Linked DNA regions of Homo sapiens: all the other regions are linked to region 2. The links are contacts of gene promoters, found by promoter capture Hi-C in blood cells and fetal thymus (Javierre and others, 2016). All regions are on one chromosome and are shown on one strand. Each heading gives the region's core, a stretch centred on a gene start or on the middle of the fragment in contact. The rest is flanking DNA. Distances are from core to core; before and after follow the strand shown.

Region 1 (2,949 bases), core at 25-2,524, 2.5 Mb before region 2:
ACAGTCACCCATTCCTATAAGGCAGTTTTTCGACAGAAGGGTATTCTTGCACCGTTAGGGGACACTGCTTTGCTATAAACCTCCTAGGCAGGATTACCGCCAGGCTCACCCCTAGTTTTATTCAGGGAACACTGTAGACTCTAGGATCGCGAATGCCATTCCAATAATACCATACACTTGTACGCCACATATTTAAGTTTTGGATACACTTTCATAAACTTTTCTATTCTAATTGTACCTTACAGGGAGAATAAGGAAGAGTAAGCGTGGTTTGTTTAAAGTTACAGATTTCAAATAGACAAGAAGCGACTAAGAGAAACTTGAGAATTCCCAAAGTAATCTTCCTCAAAATTTCAGTCATCAACCCAGTTCTCCCACGAAACGCTGCTTGGCGCCGCCTTCAGACAAACTTCTGTGTTGCTCGCACCAAGTTATCCCAACGCGGCTTGCGCTTGCTGCTGAAATGACCCTCCCTTCGGAGAGACCTGTTTTACCCTAAAAAGAAAAGGTGGCGCATTGCCATGAAGTCTCGAGTAGCAGCAGGCTTCACGCAGAACCCGCAGGAAATGATTTCCCAGCCGGTGCAAACCCGAAGACGGAAACTTCAGCCAAGAACTTATCAGCATATCCCTGAGGACGCAGCTGTCCCCTGACAGGCGACGCAAACGAAACGCCTCAGAAAGGGGCAAGATGACACGGTTAGGATCTCCCTGCCGGCGACACCGAGCGCGGCCACAGGTTGTAGCGCAGGACAGAAGGTTGAGTCATCTAGAAGGCGCCGACCCCTCCCACCCCCTCACCCGGAGCGCGGCAAAAGGCAAGGAGAACGCGTCGACCCTCGCAGCCAAGCCCCGGCAGCTGCCCGAGCGCTCGGCCTCGGGGACCCGCCGTCCTCCTCGCAGGGTTCCCGGGCGCCCAGGCCGAGGAGGGACTTACCCGTCCTTGGCGTGGCCGCCGCCCCCGAGGACCTGAGATCCCGGCTCGGCCTCCTTCCCATGCTTCTCCCGGCCGTGCTCTGCGTCCTCCCGGGCCCTCGCGACACCGGCGCACGTGGGAAGCACCAGTCGCCGGCTCCGCGCTCCCGCGGGGACCCCCCTCAGGGGCACGCCGTCCGCCCCAGCCCCGGGGTCCTCGCCGCGGGCGCTGACAGGGACGCCGCGGCCGCCCGCGCTCTGTCTCCCGTCAGGGTCACGGGCAAGAGGCAACCCCGGGACGCCCGGCAGCCTGCGAGAACATGCCGACTTTCTCTCTGACCGGCGCTAGCAACCGGAAGCAAAACCTCGCGGCCAAAGGAAAAGAAAAGGGGAGGGGGGGGCAAAAAAAGAAAGTGAAAACTGAAGTGAGGCGTCTCCCTCAGAGATGGGAACCAATCGCCGGGAAGAAACCAAGGCGCAGGCGCGGACCGAGGTCAGCGTCCACGCGGCGCTCGCGTCTCCCCTCTGCGCAGGCGTAAGGCCACAGCTCGCTCCTGATTAGGCGGCCGATCCCAACGAGCGCGTGGTGTCTCGCGTTGCCGACCCTTGACAGGAGGCGGAAGATGCCCTTGGGAAGAGGCGGGAGACGCTCTCTCGGCTGACCTACAGTGCTGTGGCTGTGGCCCACGTGGTCGCCTTCGGGCGCCTTCTCCCTTCTCAGCGTTTCATTCCCCAGGTGCTGCTGCAAGAACAGTTTATTTGTCTGGCCCGAATGCGACATTTTGGAAATTTTGCCCTTGTTTTAATCCATATAGTAGGTGTGGCTGTTACCCCCTAGGAAAGCATCTCTAGAAATTTATAACACATGCACAGAGAGCTAAGGTGACCATCAATAAATTCAGGTTTACCCTTGCCCATGATAAATAGTCATGCAAACATCATTTAACTGTAGGGACACCTTATGAGAGAGATGCCTCATTAGGCAATTTGGTCCTTGAGTGAACATCACAGAAACCTAGAAGCATAACCTACTACATACTTACACCATAAGCCATAGCCCATTACTCCTGGCTACAAACCCATGCTATATGTTATTGTACTGAATACTGTGGACAATTATAACACAATGGTAAGTATTTGTATAAGCATATCTAGACATAGAAAAGGTACAATAAAAATACAGTATGAAAAATAATGGTACACCTGTGTAAGGCATTCTCACGAATGGACCTTGCAGTACTGGGAGTTGCTCTGGGTGAGTCTGTGAGTGAGCAATGAGAATGTGAAGGTCTGGGACATTACTGTACACTCTTGTAGACTTTATAAACACTGTACACCTAAGCTACACTGAATTTATTTTTTTAAATTTTTTCATAATTAACCTTAGCTTACTGTAACTTTTTAACTTTTTAAAACTTTTAAAAAACTTTTTAAGACTCTTTTGTAATAACACTTAGCTTAAAACAAACACATTGTACACAAATATTTTCTTTATATCCTTAATCTGTAAGTTTTTTTCTATTTAAAAATTTTTTTAATTTACTTTTTAAACTTTTTTGTTAAAAACTAAGACACAAACACACATTAACCTGGGCCTACACAGGGTCAGGATCATCAACATCATTGTCTTCACCTCCATTTTGTCCCACTGGGGGGCTGGGATTACGGTGGAGCCACTGCGCCTGGCCATGTGTGCTGTACTTTTATATGACTGGCAGTGCAGTAGATTCATTTACACCAGCATCACCACAAACATATGAGTAATGTGTTGCTGTACGAAATTAAGATGGCTACGACATCACTAGGCAATAGAACTCTTCAGCTCTATTATAATCATATAAGATCACTGTTGGATATGTGGTCTGTTGTTAACTGAAACATTAAGTGACATATGACTGTACCAATGAGAGAGATTAAGTGCTAATGAACATGTATCATGAGTCAAGCACTGTGCTGGTAATACCAAGAGATTCAGTCATTGTGTTTACTGTTTACTGTAACCAGGTGCTGTAATAGACACTGGTTTTACAATCAT
Region 2 (3,218 bases), core at 431-2,930:
TGTGCACACACCCAAATTCTCCCTAGAAGACGGGTGATGCGCAGAGCGTGTTTGTGTCTGTCGCTCCTATTATTGCCTGTGTTCTGGTTCCTTTGGGCTCTTCAATAAGGAGGTACGTGTTTACCTGCAGCCCAGAACTGGCTGCCCTATGGAGAGTTTAGGGTAGACACGTTGGGACTTTTTCCCACAGTATTACCTTCCACATTGCTTCCAAAGTTTTAGCTTGTTCAAGCCGACTGCAGCCATCTACTTACCATTTAATTTTTAATTTTTTTTTTCAGAGCCCATTAGGAGACAGAGGGAGATTTGAGCCTGTTTGTATTCGTGATACAAGGGGAAAAAAAGAGGGAGAAGGTGAAGGGAGGAAGGAAGAGAGGCTCTGAGAAACCCGGAAGGTCAGACTTGGTGCGGACTTCCTCCAAGGGCTACCCCACCCTCTCCAAGCGTGGCTAATCCCAGGGCCCCTTCTGGCCCACAGTGCAGAACCACCCACTCCTACGGGGGCCTCCTTCAGCCTCTCTGGGGGTTCCCAGAAGGGCCCTTGGGCACTTGGGCAATGTCAGGGGGCTCAGGTGCATCTTCCTAGACACGAAACGAAGAGGAAAGCGGAGGCAGCAGCGGGGGCCACAGGCTCCCATGCAGCAGCTCGGAGCTGTGCTGTGCTTCGCTGGCGGCCATCCGTGATACGTGTGACACCGTGGGGCCCTGGCCCTGGGACCTGCCATGCAGCCTTGAGATCTCATCCAAGAAGCCCCCAGACCCCAAGGTTCAGGCCTGGCGGGGCAGCAGAACGCCTTTGGAGCTCAGCTCAGCCCTACAAACAGGACCAACGCCCACACCAAGGCCAGAGAGGGCTACCAAGTTTCACCTGGCCCAGCTTCCGGCAGCCCCCAACCAGGCCACTACCCTCACCTGAACACCGCGGTCCATCACCAAGCCCCACCCACTTCTGCCAGCCCTGCCCCCACAAGGACCCACCTCTCGCATGCAAGCCCCGCCCCCAAGGCCCAGCTCACCTGCAGCCCCGCCCCACCAGGCTCCACCCCATCGCCTGCAAGCCCCATCCCCAAGGCCCAGCTCACTTGCATCCCCGCCCACTAGGCTCCACCCTGTCACCTGCAAGCCCCGCCCCCAAGGCTCAGCTCACTTGCAATCCCCTCTCCCACTGGTCTCCACTCCTCACCTGCAAAGAGCCACCCCTCGCTAAGCCCCTCCCATCACTTGCACAGCCCCACCCAACACAGCACGCCATTCCAGGAGCCCCTCTTTTCACCAGCGCAGCCCCGCCCTTCACCAGGCCCCACTTCATCTGCATACACACGCCTCTCGCCACGCCCCACTTCTCGCCTGCCCACTTCCCCCTCCTATCATCTGTCCACATCCTGCTGCTGGCCGAACCCCGCCCCTTTCGGCAAGACGGCCCCGCCCCTTTCTACCCGTACCACGCCCCTCGCCTTGCCCGCCTCCTTCGGCACGTCGGCCCCGCCCCTCCCGCCCATCTCCGTCCGCACCGCCCTCCCGCCCGTCCCAGAGCAGTGGAGGCCTACCCTTTTCACCTACAGCCTATCGCAGAGGACGTCGCTGTTCGCGTTGACCAATAGGAGTGGTAGCTGTCACGGCAAGCCCCGCCCCGCGCCCTGCGTCGGGTTAAGAGGGGGTTCCTCGCCAGCCAGGTGCTCGTCATGCGCAATGTGGCGCTGCGGCGGGCGGCAGGGCCTGTGTGTGCTGAGGCGGCTGAGCGGCGGGTGAGACGCTGCGACGGGAGGCGCTCGGCGCGCTGGTACCCGGGAGGGGAGGGTCCAGGGCAGGCCGGAGGCGTAGGGGTCCTCGTCCCTGCGCCCGGGGCTGGCAGCTCCCCAAGCTGTGGGCGTCCCGCACCCCGAGCCCTTCCTGGAGCTCCCGCATCCGAGGCTCCGAGGCCGGAGGACCTCGGAGCTCCTTCCTACTCCCAGGGGCGATGCCCCGGGCTGGGGGCCGGGCCTGCCCGCGGCGCTCCCGGCGGGGCCCTCCATTAGCGTGGGCTTTAACGGGGGTAGTAAATGGGGTCGGCATTTGCGGTTCTCGCTGACAGCTTTGCTCCTAGTTCATTTTTGTTGGGAGGCCGAGTCCTTAAGAGACCCGAGGCGCCCACAGCCCATACTTAAAGTCTCGCTGTGTTCAGAGAACTGACGCCTCCCGGAATTGAACTGTTTTGTTTTTTTAATGACTCAATTTATGGGGAAAAAAATGACGAAGCAGTTTAGTGTTCATGGTAATCCACGAGCCCGTGTTTAATATAAGGTAATAGTTCAGCGCTGCCGGCCCAGGCCGGGAGGCACGGGGCGTCCGTGGCATGAGTTCGGCCTGGCCTTACCGCTCAGGAGTTTCCTATCATGTCCTTGATAAGTAACTTCTTAAAACGCTTCTGTCCCATAATTCTGAAATTTGCTAAATCAGTAAGCAAATGTTGGTTATAGCATATCTTCATAATATTGCCAGTGACTGAATAGGTTTTTTCTTCCTGTACATATTATCTTTAAAATAAATATTTCGGTGGGATACATTAATGTAGAAAATCCCATACGACATATAATACAATTGGAGAGAATAATAATTACGTGTTTTTTAAGAGCAGGGATCTTGCTCTGTTTCCCAGGCTGGTTTGATCCCCCTCCTCAGCCTCTCGCATTGCGGGGTTACAGGTGTGAGCCATCTCATTCAGGTGAGAATAATTATTAGAAATAGGTTGGGCGCGGTGGCTCACACCTGTAATCCCAGCATGTTGGGAGGCCAAGGCGGGCAGACCACTTGAGGTCAGGAGTTCAAGACCAGCCTGGCCGACATGGTGAAACTGTCTCTACTAAAAATACAAAAATTAGCTGGGCGTAGTAGTGAGCACTTGTAGTCCCAGCCACTCAGGAGGCTGAGACAGAATTGCTTGAACCCGGGAGGTGGAGGTTGCAGTGAGTCGAGATTGCACCGCTGCACTCCAGCCTGGGCAACAGAGTGAGATCTGTCTCAAAAAAGAAAATTAGTGTCCCTGTGACCAAGTTGAAGATTCCCCTAACTGCTCGTAACTCTCTCCCTCCCTCTTAGATTATCACGGTCATAACATACAGAAATGTCCTTGCTTTTTTTTTTTTTAATATTTTACCATTTTTATGCGTTCTGACAATGTCTTGTTACCTATTTGAATAATACCTGTTTAGGATAATACTGTATCATGTGTATCTTTTGTT
Region 3 (3,191 bases), core at 598-3,097, 2.3 Mb before region 2:
TATAATGCTGCTACTAATTTCAGGATACATATACTATTTGAAAACAGACTCATACATGAAACTTCTGTGGAAAAGTGACATGGTTTAGGCATTCACAGGCCACCTAAAAGATTGGGACAAAAATTTGTGTCTTTCGGAATACACGTCAGAAATTGGCCCATGTGAGCCGAAACCAAAAGTAGTTTTCTTTAGAGGTCCACATGAACTATCTTAATAATCTTGATTTGACTATTAAGAACCTAAATATTTGCAGTCACAAAACAGATTCCTAATACAATATTTAGATAGGCCAGACACAGCATTTGGAGGTGATGAAGGGGGAGTGGAACAGGCGCTTTCTATCTCACCACCACCAAATGGAAGGCACCCATAGTTCCACTGCTAGGATTGTTTATTTTTTACTTTGGAGTCCTGGAAACACGTTATGGCAAATTCAAGAAGCTTAAAGAACAGATACGAATACTGGAACCTTACTCTCCTCAAAAAAAAAAAAAAAAATCCAAAAATCCATGGGAATAAACAAAAAAATGCCAACAAGCTTTACATGCTCAATGAATTTTCTGCTGCAGGGAACCTTTCACCAGGGCTAAAGTTCACTTGGAGGGAAAAAAAGTCCAACACTCTCTAACATAAGTTTATGTTGTCAATTTAGGTTAATTTTTAATCAGACTAGGTTAGCCAGGCAGTCACATACATTATTATAGGCAATCTGTCCACAGATCAGGGTATTAATTAATGTTAGTAATCCACTTGTAGTTAGATTTTATGCCTTAAAAATTTCTCGACATCTATAAACAGAAAATTGTTGAGAATAAGTTAAAGTATTTTTCAGGTTATGCCTTACAGCTAACTGCAACGACATGGAAAAATCCTGTTGAGAAGTCAGCATTCTGTAGAAAGGCTTTTTCTTCTAATGATGCCAGTTAGAGAACATATTTTAGGAGGGTCTCTTCTATAACCAATCATATCAAGACACTGAATAAAAAAAATAGTATGCACCTGGGTCTATTCCTTTGGGTTATAATAGTTAAATAATCTTCTCTTAAAATCTTTAGCAAAACTTTAAAATCAAAAGAAAATAAAAGTTATTTTTAAAAAGATAAAAACGAGTTATGATCACATGGGATGAATTCCTTTTCTAGAAATACTCAAATTATTTAGAGCTGTGTCACTAGATCTAAAACCGTGACAACATTCCTAGTGCTTGTAACTTAGAAATAAAGGTAAGGCAGAAACACAGCCCATGCTGATACTAAACAAAGGCCAGCTTCTATGGGCCCAACAGATGATAAGCTGCAGGATTCACACTAGTGACTGTGGATGACTGCTCTACTCAAAGGAAATACTTACACATTTTGAGAAAACCGACACATAGGCAAAGACCAAAACCAAGAACAAAAACCAAAGCCAAACCACACCAAATAAAAGTGTACTTCCTGAAGACGGCAGCTATTTTAACTACCAAAAGGTGTGTGTATGTGTACACATGACAAGCAACTTTGCTGGGGTATTCAGTAAGCTTTACATATTTAAAATGCACAATTAGATAAGTTTTGACGTGTGTATAGAGACGGAAACCACTACCACAATCAAGAGATACACAGTTAACTGAATGCAGGAACACTATTCCTAGCATATAAGTGACAATGTAGTATATATTAAAGTATATAGTATAAACAGAATATCACACAATGTTAAATCAAGATTACATAAAATGGCATAAAGTAATTTGATTTATATTGATAAATGTTCATAAAGACTAAAAAAAGACTCAGACAAAGCAAGGAGGGTAAAAATAATGAGTCACTGGTTTAAATATTCTAACATGCCTCTTTCCTTCTGAAGAAAAAAGTGGCATACAATGAACTCATCAGATGGAAGAAAAATGCACACCAGGTCAGACTAAACTTTAGTTGCAATTTGTTCACTAGCATTGATTTACAAGAACGGGATTCTTTTCCTCTTGCTCCATTAAGGTAGTTTCTAAGACTGGATGATATCAATTCAAGTTAAAAAAACAATTATATTAAGCATCAGAAATGTGACAAACGTAACCCGAGTAACATATACATTTAAAATCTTTTCCTTTTTTATAAAAGCTGTGTACACTCAAGCTATGCTATGTATAAACTATTTAAACTTAGACCACAGTCCCTAAACACATTTCAAGCTTGCACATAAATCAAGAACATACATTGTAATAATAAGATCAAAAGTTTAAAATTATACTGTTAATACCTTGTTAAAAATTTTAAAAGCTCCGTGGAGTTAGAAAACATTCCTTTTGCCTAACGTTTCTCTTAAAGTCTTACCTCTTGTTCTCTGAAGGACTGGTTATTGACATCTAGGACTCGTATGGTCCTTTTAATAGGTAGGAGACCTCCAGTCTCATCATGTGCCACCATGCTTCCCAAGTACTCCCTCAAACCTTTCCAATCAATCCACACCGAGTCAGCGCTGTAGCGACGCTATGCAGAGGCACACGGGCTTTTCTTCCCAGAGCTCGGCCACCCTCGGCAGCCACGTGCCCATGCCTCTCGCCGCGGTGGAGCAGAGGCTTCTGAGAGCCGCAGGCAGCAAGCACCGACCCCAGGGCTCGGGGGCGGGGCCACAGCCAACCGGGCCCTGGGGGCGGGGTCCACCACCACGTGACTTCAGTTAACTGAGAGCTGGGCACACCTAGGCCTCTCAGCTTTCGCCCAGGAGGAGAGTGAAGCTGGGTTCAAGTAGGACAGAAACTTCTCTTCCTGATTTAAAATGCATTCCCGAAGTAAAACAAATTGTTACGTTATCTACTCTGGTGCTTAGTCACAGACAGGCAGACTTTTCCCATAAAACCCTATTGCATGGGAATAAGTTCAGTATGGACAACTTGACAACTCAAATAAGGAAATAGAAATTCTTATTCGATAGGGCTGAATCAACATATATAATGAAGAAAAGCCTAATTTTCCAGGAAACCTGCTTTTATTTTACAGAAGTGCAAGCATATTCACAATTATAAAATAGATTATCTAAGTCTTTAAATAGTTCCCACTTTTTCTTAAGACTAGCAGGGTAAATACAGCAGGTGCACTTCTGTTACCTCTCTTCCAGAAGAAAATCTCCCATGAGGTTACGGGTAAACTGGGCTACTTCAGATTTCAAAATTCAGTATTTCTTAGAGGTAGATATTTTTTCTGGATCTTTTT
Region 4 (3,124 bases), core at 343-2,842, 2.2 Mb before region 2:
TTTATTAAATTCCTGCTATAATATGCCAGGATCTGTGCTAGACATTAGGGAAATAAGGAATAGAAGACAAATTTTCATCAGAAAATGGCTGGGTACCATAGAAGAAGAGCAAAGAAAAGTGACCGCTCTGAGGGTTGGTCATTGAAGACCTGGGAAAGGCTGGTGACATCTCTTGATCTTACAAGAGATCAACTTTCTGGTGTCTGAATGCCATTGTCCCCATGTTCTATGTCTTACACTGTATAGAACAGTCCCAAAACCATGACAAATGTTCTCTGAATCCTCTCTCTTTCAGTTCCCCACAAATCATCCTTCTCCCTTAAAATATTCACCGGGATAGGGTTTGAGGAAATTGTTTTGATTTCAGCTTTCATATATATAAAATCAGACTCTAGAACTCCCTCTCTGAGAAGATATTCCTACTAACTTGACTAGAGCAAAGTGTAACCCAAACTTTTTCAACCATGGATTTGCAAAACAAATATTCTTTTGGGGAACTTCCTCAAAGATTATTTCCAAAACCTTCAGCCCTATGTGATGACACCAATCATTTTGCAAGTTGATATTAAATAAATTCAACAATCAATAAATGAATGTAAATTATTATGTAAATCAATAATTTAAAAACCTATTTTCTTTCATTATCTAAGTAAATCAAACTATTTTTGCAAAACTGCTTACCAAGTTTTATATATATATATATATATATATGTATATATTAGAGTACAAAGTGTTCATCAAAACACTTTATTAATTTCCAAATTATTTGATGATTTTGATGTGATATTTTGTTTGCCATTGCTATCACTAGCTAAATGATTCCCCTTTGGTCTGTAGGCTCCCATAGAAAAATGTAGCAAATTTGCAAACAATGACCTACCATTAGAAAACTAGTAGTCTTAATAACTAGAGAATTGCCCTTTGCATCAACGTTTTTCTTTTTTGTCTGAATCTTCTCATAGCTTCTCATGAACTAACAGCAATTACATTCAGGAGAATGAATGTCTGTATGTGTGCATATACATATAATTTATATATAGAATGTTATAATAAAGTCTGAAATTTTTAAAAATATATTTACTATATCTACTATTGATTAATTTACAAAACTGTTTATTAGACTGTAATTTTTAATTGGGTCAAACTTAATTGTTCCTGCCAAATGAAAGGGAGTGTAGTCCAACAGCTAAGTATGTGGACTGCATTGATTGTCATTCTGACAAGCAGAAGTGTACTTATAGGCACAATAGGGCAGAATATTTGAAATCAGGTTTGTCATCCCTTAAAATCTATCACTGTGTGTGTATGTGTGATGTGGGGGGAGGTTGTTTCATTTTTTGCCTCAATCAGTCAATCAATCAATCAATCATCTATGAATCATTTGTTTACCATATTGGTTTACTCTTAGGTATTCCAATGAGGAAAATGGAAAACTCCAAAATCTAGCTGTTGAGCTTAGAGAACAATAAAATTTGAGATGAAATATGTGTGGCCAGAGAAGGTGCTATTAATCCAAAGTAGACTGTAATTCATTTTTCTTAACGCTTAGACTATCTTCCTAAAGACATTGCAGGTCTAAAAGACTGATTTATATTAGTAGTAGGAGAGGAGAACAGAGGAGGAAGGAGAAAGGGGTTTCAGTGCAATGGTAGGGGCCAGAGAGAATGGCAAAGGACAGTGATCTGGCTGTGGTTGTGAGGCTGCCAACAGAGAATTACCAAAGAGAACTTCAGAAATGTCAGAATGTCAATCAGAATTATTGCTCAGAGTTGAATAATTTTTTTTTTTTGTAACAAATTTTCATGCTTAGAAGGTTTTGTTTGTCTCATTACTTGGCCAGTGAATTGACTGGCTCACAATGAAAAATACTTAAGAAAGGAACTTTTTTTTTTTTTTGAGATGGAGTTTTGCTCTTGTTGCCCAGGCTGGAGTGCAATGGCGTGACCTTGGTTCACTGTAACCTCCGCCTCCAGGGTTCAAGTGATTCTCCTGCTTCAGCCTCCAGAGTAGCTGGTATTACAGGTGCCTGCCACCACACCCGGCTAATTTTTTGTATTTTTAGTAGAGATGGGGTTTCACCACATTGGCCAGGCTGGTCTTGAACTCCTGACCTCAGGTGATCTGCCCACCTTGGCCTCCCAAAGTGCTGCGATTACAGGCATGAGCCACTGTGCCTGGCCAAGAAAGGAACTTTGAACAAGGACATCGTAACTATAAATACCACACTTTTATCACTCTGCCATTTTTTCACCCTCAGAACCTAAGGGTGGCCACCAAGTATGTCAGAGTCAGTATTGTGTGTGTGATTTATTTTAAGGAATAAGTTAGTGTGATTGTGGGGCTGTAAAGTCTGGAATCAGTAGGGCAGGCTGGCAGACTGGCAGGCTGGAAACTCCTGAGTAACAGCTAAAGCTGAAACTAAAGGTGCCATCCTTAGGAGAAATTTCTTCCTCAGAGAAATCTCCATTTTACTCTTATGGTCTTTCAACTGATTGGATGAGGCCCACTCACATTATTGAGGATGATGTCCTTTACTTAAAGTCAAAGTTTACTGGAGATGTTCACCACACCTCCACAATGCCTGCACAGCAATACCCAGACTAGTGTTAGATTGGATAACTGGGTGCCACAGCCTAGCCAAGTTGACACAAAAACTATCACCCCAGAAGGCCTCTTCAGACGTGAAATTCCAATTATTATCACTTGAGGAAACTTTTTTCTTTAAGACTTAGTCTTTCAAAGAAATAAGGAATTACTAAAAGATAAGATGCATTTCTTAAATTATACTACAAAAGAGATTTTTCTAGTTTCTTTCTAATTCCTACGTAAATCTAAGTTAATCATAGCTCCATGTCAGACTGACAATTTTTAAAAGTTAATGAAAGATACTGAGTACATCAGTGGACTAGAAATGAGATACTCACATTATCTGATTTTTCCCTCATCTTGTTTCAAACTGAAAATATCTGGGACCAGTGGGAGAAAATTTGATACAGCAACAAAATAAATATCATTCTGATTTTATAAAATGGAACTGGCTTAATTTTTCTTTTCATTATATGGAACTACCAGGATGCTAAACATTTGGGGAGTTATTGACAGAGACAGATAGGATTGACTTTAT

What was found. The method cuts DNA at HindIII sites, captures the fragments that hold promoters and counts their contacts. A CHiCAGO score of 5 or more calls a contact.
Region 1: a contact is called between the fragment with the promoter of TASOR2 here and the fragment with the promoter of PITRM1 in region 2, in 1 of 17 cell types (monocytes). The highest score is 6.8, in monocytes.
Region 3: a fragment that was not itself captured here is called in contact with the fragment with the promoter of PITRM1 in region 2 in 1 of 17 cell types (monocytes); the score reaches 6.7 in monocytes.
Region 4: a contact is called between a fragment that was not itself captured here and the fragment with the promoter of PITRM1 in region 2, in 1 of 17 cell types (monocytes). The highest score is 5.1, in monocytes.

Annotation. Positions count from the first base shown.
Region 1 is chr10:5,683,163-5,686,111 of GRCh38, reverse strand. It overlaps TASOR2 (transcription activation suppressor family member 2), which reads right to left and starts at 1,274. Exons shown (of 22, transcript NM_001321783.2): 1 at 937-1,274. RefSeq lists enhancers at 431-610, 1,231-1,340, 1,481-1,720 and silencers at 831-880, 921-1,180. The HindIII fragment of the contact is 4,285 bases long and covers 1-2,949 here.
Region 2 is chr10:3,171,244-3,174,461 of GRCh38, reverse strand. PITRM1 (pitrilysin metallopeptidase 1) reads left to right here and starts at 1,680. Exons shown (of 27, transcript NM_014889.4): 1 at 1,680-1,745. The coding sequence starts at 1,690. RefSeq lists an enhancer at 130-667 and silencers at 866-1,025, 1,316-2,155. The HindIII fragment of the contact is 12,209 bases long and covers 1-3,218 here.
Region 3 is chr10:5,445,980-5,449,170 of GRCh38, reverse strand. All of the region lies in intron 3 of NET1 (neuroepithelial cell transforming 1), which reads right to left. Among named protein-coding and RNA genes, the nearest start is that of NET1, 35 kb to the right of the region's middle. RefSeq lists a silencer at 2,524-2,753. The HindIII fragment of the contact is 651 bases long and covers 1,522-2,172 here.
Region 4 is chr10:5,406,601-5,409,724 of GRCh38, reverse strand. No RefSeq gene overlaps it. Among named protein-coding and RNA genes, the nearest start is that of TUBAL3, 3.3 kb to the right of the region's middle. The HindIII fragment of the contact is 5,363 bases long and covers 1-3,124 here.